Regions from separate parts of the Homo sapiens genome. Here region 2 is linked to region 1. The links are contacts of gene promoters, found by promoter capture Hi-C in human tissues and cell types (Jung and others, 2019). All regions are on one chromosome and are shown on one strand. The core of a region is centred on a gene start or on the middle of the fragment in contact, and the rest is flanking DNA. Distances in the headings are between cores, read along the strand shown.

Region 1 (5,271 bases), core at 1,928-4,427:
CACATCATAGTGAAGATACGATCGTTCATGGCTCTTACTCAGAAATCTTGTTTATCTCTTCCTTTGTGTGCCATGGGAAGGGTCTTTAATGATCATGAGTTGACATGAATATTCCTTTCTTGTAGCTTCTGTATCTTCATTATCGGGCACATCAGCCGGTCCCAGAAAAAGTTATTTCACAGTTCTGTTCCCAAGGGAACAAAGAGAGTGGGTCCCATATTCACAGTGGCTTTTGTTGGCTTCTTTCCCCCTGACATTAAAGCCATGTATGGTTGGCAAGGATGTCTTTTCTTTAATGTGGACATGGTTTCTGCCTCTGGTTCTCTGGAAACAAGTTTGCTGTAGGACAAGCTGCCCGCACACTCACATACACGGAAAAGAGGCTTCACTGAGAACAAATCAGAACTGAAAAACAGCTTCAAGTACAAATGTTCTTTTCTTCCGAGATTTTGAGTTCAATATTTATTTGGCTTTCATATCTAATGGCTTGAAAAAGTATCTATACATCTAATTAGAGTTAATTACTCACTCCCTGTATGTGCCTCCCACAGTGCTCTCCTCCCAGCCAAGGAACTCATTGTTACCGGCCAGGCTGTGTACATTTCCCATCCAGTGACATTTACAAGAAGAATAGCTCCTAGCAGAAACAGGCTGGTACCCTAAGAGAGAGAAGCTGTCTCACAGGGGCCACCCAAACAACCAGAAGTTCAGCCCCAACTGCATTCATACTGCACCATCTCTGACTCTCCACTGGCGGGAAAACCCAGCCAGCTTACACTCCACGCACAGCATGCGCCTCAGATACCCAGCTGGGATTAGCGAGCAGGACCACGTGTGAATGGCACGGCAAATTCTCCAGAATACAGGGTTCCCTGGATTCTAAATTTTTCTCTTGCCTTTCTAATCAAGAACAGAGAGAGAGAGAGAACACACACCCTGTCCAATAACTCATTGTTCAAGCACTGTAGTTCACCCAGGTAAAATTCAGTGCAGCCGGGAGGGGGGAAGCCTGGGAGAGCAACTGCAGTCTCTCCCGCTGAAGTTCAGGACTCAAAAATCAACACTTCCCAGCAGTGGCTGCCTGCCCAGGATGCCCCTCCCTCCTAAAATAGACACAATTTGTAGTTCCTTGTAAAATGGTTGTATCAGGACTTCTGATTTACTCAATCAGGGCTTGCGGTTTATTTTTAGCAAATAAGAGAGGCCTCCTATGAGAAAGAGCAGCCACACTTATAGCGCTAACAGGTAGAAACTTTACTGGCCCTCTATAAATCAATTCAACACCCTGGTCTCCAGGCATTTGCCAAAAGCTAATGGGCGGCAATTATGAAACCATCGCCAGGAGTTTCCAGCAGGGCTGAGAGAGAGTTTTAAGTCTGCAGGCCCTTTCAAGGGTAAAATAGGAAATCATTTCATGAAGCAGCAATTTTACCCAGAACCCAGCTAGAAGAGATGTGATCCTAGCTTAAATTAAAGTGACTAAGAAACAGGTGGGGTGAACAAGGAGGTGTGGTACGCAAGTCATCTTCTCCCACTTTCCTTTGGAATCCAAAGGAACTCAACATTGGAAACACAGCTGGATACGTTAATAAAGATCCCAGCTGGGCAGTCTAGGGAATTGGGGGTGTACAGGCCAGTGCTCCCTCTCCTCCACCTTGAAACCCTGCCTGTTTTCACACAGCAATTGAGGATGCGCCCTTGGACAGCGACCTTGGGGTCTGGAGCAGCCATCTATCCCAGGAGAAGGAGGAAGGCTCGGCAGGGGAGGCTCTGGCCAGCCCACCAGGGCCTGTCCAGTTTCGTGGGGAGGGGAACTGCCGCACATGCCGCACACAAAAGGCGGAGGCTTTGACCAACATGCTGGGTGAGGGCTTGGAGGACCCAAAGGTGGCTCTTTCTTTGAAGACACACAGCAGCAATCTTAACCCTTAGAAGTGTCACAGAGCCTCATATGAGCTTTCAAGTAAGCTGTGGAAGTCGCGATTCCCAGGTAAGGGACGGGAAACTCCGGATGTCCTGCGAGCCCACACCCCAGATGGCACCGCCTGAAACCAGAATCCAGGTCCTCCACCCCCGATTGTTTCTCCTTCCTCTCATCTTACCAAGTCATGTGGGCGCCCCCACCCCCATCCCCGAGGCCTCAGTGCGACGGTGACCGCTCAGTCTTGGGGCCTGAGCTGCTGGAGACACACTGGAGCACAGCGGGGCCCAGCCCTCGGGCCTGTCTGAGGCTTTCCTCCGCCGTGACCACCGCCTCTCCAGGTGTACCAGCGTTGGTTAGGAACAGTAGGTGCTACTGGTCACAGTCACCAGATACTTCCCACGAGCCTCATCTTTATCCCCGACTCTGGCCGCCGGCGGGAAGCGGCGTGTCCGAGCGCACACCCCGTGGAGACTGACCCTAGGTCTGTTACTCCAAAGTCCCTGGTCTCTCCTTCCCCTTTCTCGCGGCCGCCTGCCTGGCACGGGACCCTGAGGCCGGAGCGGAGACCGCAAAACCCCTTGGGGCCGGCACCCCCTGCCTCCGCCTTGGCGCAGACGTGCCCATCTCTGGGACGGCCCCGAGCGCACGCAGCCGGCGGGCGACCCTCCTCCCAGAGACCTGCACGCTGCCCCCGGCTCCCAGCGTACCGCCACCCTCAACCCGACACACCCAAGTCCGCCCCAGCCACGCGCCAAGACGCTCACCTCCCGCAGCAGGCGCTCCAGGTGCGGCTCGGCCCAGGCGTCCAGGGCGCCTGGCGGCCCCGCGCGCCGCAGCAGCTCCCGCTCCTCCTCGAGCGCCGCCACCCGGCCCTGCAGCGCGGCCGCCTGGACACCCAGCAGCAGGCAGGCAGCCGCCGAGCCCACGGAGAGCAGCAGGCACAGCGCGCTCACCGCCCGGGACCCGGCCGTCGTCGCCGAGCGCCCTCCGCCGCCGCCGCCCGCCGCATTGCCCTTCCCCGCGTCGCCGCCGCCACCGGCGCGCTCGCCTGGGCCCATGGCGCGTTCGTCGCGCGTGGACTCTCCGAGGGGGCGGTGCTGCTGGGGCAGAGGCTGGGTGCGAGAGGAGCAGGCGGGACAGCCCGAGGCACGAGGTCCGCCGGGCGCGGGGGTTAGCCTCCGGGTAGCAGCGGATCGCCGCGCACGCCCCCTTCGCCGCAGCCAGCTCCTCCACAGCGGCCACTTTGGGCAGTTTCCTCTATGCAAATAGACCCTGCCAGAAAAGGAGCAGGGACCCACCCAGGGGAGGAGCGGCCGGGCTGGCCCCGCGCGGCGAGGGGGCGGGGGCGAGGAAGGAGCGAGCTCCTCGGAGCCACCCGTCGGCGCCGGGCTGATCCCACGCGCAGCGCGCACCTCTGCCCTCACCTAGCCCGGGCGCCGGCACCCGCCCCCGCACGCACCTCTGAGGCTTCCCCAGCCCAAGCCCGCACTGTGGACCCCAGAGGTCGGAGGGGAGCCCGGCGACACCGCGCCCCTTCTGCAGCCCACCCCTGGCTGGAGCACCCACCACTCGTGCCTTAGCACATTCCTCTAAACTTGTGAATTACCTTTCTGACACTTGTAAAAGTTCAAAACTTCAAATCCTGCAAAAAACTGAGTGGGTCTGTCCTCGGTGGTGGATTAGCGCCGCTTCGTGGCGGAAAGCGACCTCTGCGCACTCACATTTAGAGAGGCAGGGTCGAGATTGCGCCAAACAGAAATACGCCCCTTAGAATCTTCTCACGAGTTCTTAGCTGCCGGACTTCGGTGCGGGAAACAAAAATGGTAAGACTGTTTCTGGCCTGGAGAGGGCTTTTGAGAAAACTGAGACTATAACGAATGGGAAAGATTCAGAAAATGAACTTCAAGTCTTGTTCAACTGATGACTTAATTCTGTATTAGACGCACAACTTGGCCAAAAATTATGATCTAGTATGCACCACACTTAACCTGTACTGCGATTCTGCTGCAAATTTAAATCACAGGGCTGAGGCAAGAAGGCTGTGGCGTACAGCCTGGGTCCAGAGAACAGAATGAGTGGCACTAACAAGTCTTGGCAGGAAAGGGAAGAACTGCTGGAAGTCAGGCTGGGTTCAGATTCCTACCAGGCATATTCATGTCCTAAATGGGTCCCAAGTAACTCTTTCGCTAACTCCTGTAATACCTAAATGAAACAACAAACCAGCAGTTCAGATCTTTGTGATTTGAGTAACCCCCCAACCATTTTTTTTTAAGAAAAATAACGTTATATCCATCTTCCCTCTCACTCTGGATATCTTCTGGTTGTCTCATTTCTGTGGATACTCACCTTTTAGAACTGTTGAGTGCCTCTGGCTAACATGTTCCATCTCCTTCCCTTAATTCAGAGGGGAACCCCTGAGATGGCCGGGGGTTATGGTTGATAGACTTGGCTCTGTGCTAAAGTCTGGTGTATGCCCAATAGAATGAAAAGTTGGCCTCATTCTGAAAAGAGGCCAACACCCTCTTACAAGTCAGCACTACATTTCTTACAGGCACATAAACTGCACACCACCTACCTATGTTAATGTTACTGCATGTATTGTTTGCCATGTTCCTGAAGCTTCTGTGTATTGAAAAAGCCAAGCTCACTGGCCCCTGGGCCTCTGCCCTTGCCTACCACCTCACTACCTGCATTCCTGCTCTCAGATCGTTAAACGGCAAGCCCCTCCTCATCCTCCAGGTCAAGGTCCTCAACCTCACTGCTTCTAAAAGATCTTCCCAGACTGCCCAATTTAAGGTGGCCCACAAGATTAATCAGGGAATTGGGGCGGCTGAATTAAGATGGAAATACTGTCTGCAACTCATTCTAAAAGGCGAAAAAGAAAATGACTTACTTGTGTCCATTAGGGTCCTGGAAGAATAGATGGCATCCTCAGAGAGGGTGACTCAAGACAGCCTGAATGTAGAGCCACTTCACAAAGTGGAGATCAGAGGGGCCAGCAGGGGAGGCCGAAGCAGCACTCTGCGGGTATTGACAGTGGGAGGCCATTACCATCCCTAACTGGGAACCCTGGGGAACTTGGAGCTATAGAAGAGGGCTGCTCCACAGCACCTGTGGCCCTTGGTTAAGGGGAACAGCCTCTGCAAAGCCATGGCTTGAAAGGGAGGGAGCTCACAGAATAAATACTCAACTGCTCTCTCCTGCTCTCTGATCTACTGGGGCCTTCCAATGACCAAACCTCCAGGGCAGGGGCCAGCCTCCTAGAGGGCAGAGAGCAGAGGCAGAAGGAAGAAGGGCAGATCTTGAGGGGGAATAAAAGAATATCCACTAACCTATCGTGTGTAGCA
Region 2 (5,271 bases), core at 1,928-4,427, 980 kb after region 1:
CAACAGAGCAAGACTCTGTCTCAAAATAAAAAATAAAAAAATAAGTATATAATATTTACAGAAATTTATGACTGGTTCATTTTTTATATTTATAAGTAAGCAATAATCATTATAAAAGGAATGTTCTCTAGACTGTGATGATTTACGAGGAAGGACTCTTTCCAGAGTTAAAGCTTTCTTGTAATTGAGAAATAGATACATTTTACAGCATAGCCTAAAACCCAAGCCTTTCAGTGTTTTCAAGTCATGGCTCATTGTCGAACATATCTTTACACGACAAATACTGATTTACAATATTTCACATACTCTGAGTAGTTACACTGAGTAACTTTGAGTTACAGATTTTCTTCTAATGAACAAAGTATTTTTCAATTTTTTATTTATAATCGATACAAAATTATACATATTTATGGGATACTATGCATGTATACACTATGTAATGATGAAATCAGGGTAATTACCATATCCCTCACTTTACTAATGAACTAATTCTTAAGAGAAAAGTCTTATACGCACACACACACAGTGGCCTGGATGCCACTGGATTTGGTACATTAGCAAGTCATTGCTGACCAGAGCAATATCAGGCAGGGGATGGACCACCCCCTGCAAATGGCCGCGATAACTGGGCAATAAAGGAAGTAAAGCAACAGATGTTGCTCCGTGGGACGCAAGAAGGAGGAGTGTTATTCTTGGATGTGGGATCCCATTTCCTGTTTATATCAGCATAAGTGGAGAAGTAATTCATATCAACACAGAACAGGAGCCAGTGGAGACACAGGAGGGGAGAGTGACAGGAGTCAAGAGGAGACGAGGAGAACTGGGGTCCAGGGTCTGCATGGAGGAGTTAACTTTAGACAGGAGGAGAGGCGAGCCCATTCTAAGCCACAGGAAGAGAGGAGAGGACGGGAGAAAAAGCAGCCGTTGAAGCAGTGAAGAGAAATGAAAGGGAGGGAGGAAATCCACAGCAGTATCTTCTGGCTCCAGGGCACAGGTGAAAAGGCAGTTCAGGGTGGGGAAGGAGTGGGGATGGTGAAGCTGTTTCTGAGCATCGCCCTGTCCTGTCCATCTCTTTCAGCGAGTTCTATGAGCCTGAGGCTTTAATGATGGAGGAAGAAGGGATGGTGATTGTTGGTCTGCTGGTGGGACTCAATGTTCTCGATGCCAATCTCTGCTTGAAAGGAGAAGACTTGGATTCTCAGGTAAAATGAAATTTTGGCTCTAGATGAACACTTTCGTTAGTCCAGGGACTTTACATAGGATCTGCAAACAGGTACTGAACCCAAAGAAGGGCAAATGGCAAAGAGCCCACTGGTAGAGGACCCCAGGGATGCAGCTGGGGAAGGTCTCGGAAGGGTGAAGAAGTTGCATAGCCAGAGGTACACACGGAAAGCTTGGCAGGTTTGGGAACAGGCAGACAGCTCTCCATGGCTGGAGTAGAGGATGCTCTGTGGGCGAGGTGAAAGTGGAGGCTGGGCCTGATAGTTAGGCCATTGGTGCTATGCTGAAGGGTGTAGCTTTTTTGTTGTTGTTTTTTTTGAGACGGAGTCTCGTTGTGTCTCCCAGGCTGGAGTGCAGTGGCGCGATCTCGGCTCCCTGCAACCTCCGCCTCCCGGGTTCACACCATTCTCCTGCCTCAGCCTCCCGAGTAGCTGGGACCACAGGTGCCCGCCACCACGCCCAGCTAATTTTTTGTATTTTTAATAGAGACGGGGTTTCACCGTGTTAGCCAGGATGGTTTCGATCTCCTGACCTCGTGATCCGCCCACCTCGGCCTCCCAAAGTGCTGGGATTACAGGCGTGAGCCACTGCGCCCGGCCTGTATTTTTTTTTTTTAGTAGAGATGGTGTTTCACCATGTTAGCCAGGATGGTCTCAATCTCCTGACCTCGTGATCCACCCGCCTCGGCCTCCCAAAGTGCTGGGATTACAGGTGTGAGCCACTGTGCCTTGCCTGAAGGGTATAGCTTTTATCCCCTTTTATCCTGAGCTTTGGGGAGCTGTTGGAGGTTTTTAAAAAGTACACTGAAATGATCATGCCTGGATTTGAGAAAGCTCAATCTAGCAGCCATTCAGGTTATGAGTTGGAAGTGGCCAAGAATAGATACAGCAAAAGCCTTGAGGAGACTAGTCTAGAAGTCCTGCAAGCCTGGATGGGGAGTAGGAAGATAGAGTCAGGAGAGATTTGGGAAGTCAGGTTGATAAAATGGCACAAAGGAGAGTAACCAGTAAGGTGTAGAGTGCTCTGTGGGAAGGACAGCCCTCTTGGGATGGGCTTTCTTCCTGCATAGGAGCTGGTGACCAGAGCCAAGGCCTAAACTCCTGGTGGCAGGGACTGTAAATGTGTGAGGGGAATAGGTACCCTAACCCATTCCTCACTTCCACCCCCTCTTCGGGGCATCCGCAGCTGTAGCTGGGCCACTGCCCAGAAAAAAGAGATTATTTTACACTACCTAGCAAAATTCCCAGCCTTTTTCCTGCATTGTGTTTGGTGAATCTAAAGATTCCCTGATCCCTCCATGTGCAGGTCAGTGTTTTTTTATAACCTCTCCTCCCTTTAAAAAAAAAAAAAGTTCGATTGTCTTTGCATGTTGAAAAATATCTTTTTTTGAATTCAGAGAAGTATTTTTGAAAAGACACTAAACATCACACATATTCTCATTACTCTTAGACCGATAATTCAGTGTTACATTCTGGTATACACCCTTCTAGCAGATGAATAAAGGTGTGTGCATGCATGTGTGTGTGTATATGTTTGTGTATTTTAGAGTGAGATGTTCGAAGGGTTTCTTTTTTTATGAAACCAAACTATGATTATTTTAAGCACACCATTTTGTAATTTTAAAAAATTTAACAATATGTTCCACACAGTTCTCAATAACGAGAGATATAAACCATTTAAAATGACTATGTAGTATTTCATTTTTTAACGTACAATTATGTAACCAGTACCTTATTAATTTAGATTGTTTCCATATTGTGACAATACTATTGCTGGGCACATGGCTCACGCCTGTAATTCCAACACTTTGGGAGGCCAAGGTAGGAGGATCACTGGAGCCCAGGAATTTGAGACCAGCCCGGGCAAAATAGTGAGACCTTGTCTCTACCAAAAATTTAAAAAAATTAGCCGAGCATGGTGGCATGCTGTCTGTCATCCCAGCTACTCTGGAGGCTGAGGTGGGAGGATTGCTTGAGCCTGGGAGATCAAGGCTGCAGTGAGCTCTAATCATGCCACTGCATTGCACTCCAGTCTGGGCAACAGAGCCAGACTCTGTCTGGAAAAAAAAAAAAAAAACACCAATATTATAGACATCCTTGAAGTTCTCTGTACTCTTGTCCGTGTATTTCCTTAGGATAAATTTGGGGTTGTTGTGTCAAAGTATACAGGCTACATTTTGCTAGATAACATAAAACGGACCTCCAGAAAGGTCTTCATTATATACACCCACCAGCAGTGTGGGAGAGAACACATTTCCTCCTGACACTGGATGTGATGAGCATTCTCAGTCTTTTTCAGCCTCATGGACAAAACAACTCATTATCTCAAATTTACAAGTATTTTCCTGTTTTATTTGCCATTGGTGGTTCAGCATTTGTGATTATCTTTTCATATTCTTTGTCCATTTTTGAGTTTTCTTTCTCTACTTCTTTATTAAAGACTAAGCACATTGACCCTTTTTCAGAATTATTTGTTATAAATTTTTTTTCTGGTTTCTCAGTGGTGGTTTGCCCTGTAAGTTTTTTATTTTTAGTTTTTGGCAACCAGATTTAGCAGATGTTTCCTTTATACCTTCTAAGGTATTGTGCTTTGAAGGTCCTTCCCTATCTAAACATTACCCTAACTTTTAATATCAAATGTGGGGAGCTGGAACCTGAGTCCACGCGTCTGGTTGTCAGTCTGTCCAGCCTTTACCGCCACAGCTTTCAGTCATGGCTTCCAGTCAGTCGCAGCTCGGAAAGCCAGCCCCTGACTTCAAGGCCATTGCCCTGGTGGATGGCGCCTTCCAGGAGGTGAAGCTGTGGGCTACAAAGGGAAGTACGTCGTCCTCTTTTTCTACCCTCTGGACTTCACTTTTCTGTGGCCCATGGAGAACGTCGCATTCAGCGACCATGCCGAGGATTTCCGCAAGCTGGGCTGCGAAGTGCTGGGTGTCTGGGTGGACTTAGTTCACCCACCTGGCTTGGATCAACAACCCCCAGAAGTAGGGAGGCTTAGGCCCCCGAGCATCCCCCACCCGCTGATGTGACGGGAAGCTTGTCTGAAGATTACTGTGTGCTGAAAACCAATGAGGGCATTGCCTACCCTGCCTCTTTATCATCGATGGCAAGGGTGACTTTTGCCAGATCACTGTTAATGATTTGCCTCTGGGGTGCTCCATGGATGAGGCTCTGCAGCTGGTCCAGGCATTCCAGTACGCAGATGAGCACGGGAAAGTTTGTCCCACTGGCTGGAAGCCTGGTAGCGACAATGAAGCCCAATGTGGATGACAAGGAATACTTCTTCAAACACAACTAGGCTGGCCGATGGATAGTGAGCTTGTGCCCCTACTGGGTACCCTGTGCTAACCCAGGAAAGGCCAGACCTGCCCCTCCAATCTCCACAGTCTGGGACCCTGGAGGGCCAGGCCAAGACCTTCTGCTTCTACCTGGGTAATTTTTTACACACTTTATGTGTAAAAAATGTGTAAATTTTACACATTTTTGCCATTTGTTTTGGCATAGTGTGAAGTAGGAATCTAAATTTCTTTTACAAATAGTTAACCAGTTTTTGCAATATCATCATGTAATATATTTTTTCTACTAATTTGAAATTCCACTTTTATCATATGTGAAATATCCATAATATGCATTGGTTTATTTCTGGACTCTTCTGTTGTAAATCTGAATCTGTGTTCCTATGCCAGTGACACATTCTTTTAATGACTGGAGCCAGATAGTATATTCTAGACTCTGGTAGTTAAGCGCCTGCCTACTCTGCTGTACTTCTGTTTCAAATATTTCTGGGCCATCCATTCTGCCAGATGAACTTGAACATCGTTTTGTCAAATTCCAGAATAAAAACTCCATTGAGATTTTAATTAATTAATAGACATGAGTGAGCAATCTGGTCTAGTGCTATCTTGAATGGCAGTGCCTATAGTGTGTTCTTCAAACACACTATAGTATACATAATCATATACATAATAGTATACATAAAGTATACATGTTTGCTGCTGATGTCTGAGGGATGCGGTTTCTCACGTTTAGAGAGTGCTTTCCACTCCAGTTT

What was found. Contacts are between HindIII fragments. The study calls those that stand out against the background at their distance.
Region 2: a fragment that was not itself captured here is called in contact with the fragment with the promoter of COL23A1 in region 1 in 1 of the 25 tissues and cell types used here (lymphoblastoid cells).

Annotation. Positions count from the first base shown.
Region 1 is chr5:178,587,216-178,592,486 of GRCh38, forward strand. COL23A1 (collagen type XXIII alpha 1 chain) reads right to left here and starts at 3,178. Exons shown (of 29, transcript NM_173465.4): 1 at 2,689-3,178. The coding sequence starts at 2,982. RefSeq lists an enhancer at 1,624-2,524 and a silencer at 3,180-3,379. The HindIII fragment of the contact is 6,512 bases long and covers 1-5,271 here.
Region 2 is chr5:179,568,224-179,573,494 of GRCh38, forward strand. RUFY1 (RUN and FYVE domain containing 1) reads left to right here. Exons shown (of 18, transcript NM_025158.5): 5 at 1,079-1,202. The region is part of intron 4 of LOC128966623 (a long non-coding RNA gene); the gene reads left to right. It also overlaps the pseudogene PRDX2P3. Among named protein-coding and RNA genes, the nearest start is that of RUFY1, 20 kb to the left of the region's middle. RefSeq lists an enhancer at 3,656-4,156. The HindIII fragment of the contact is 4,788 bases long and covers 784-5,271 here.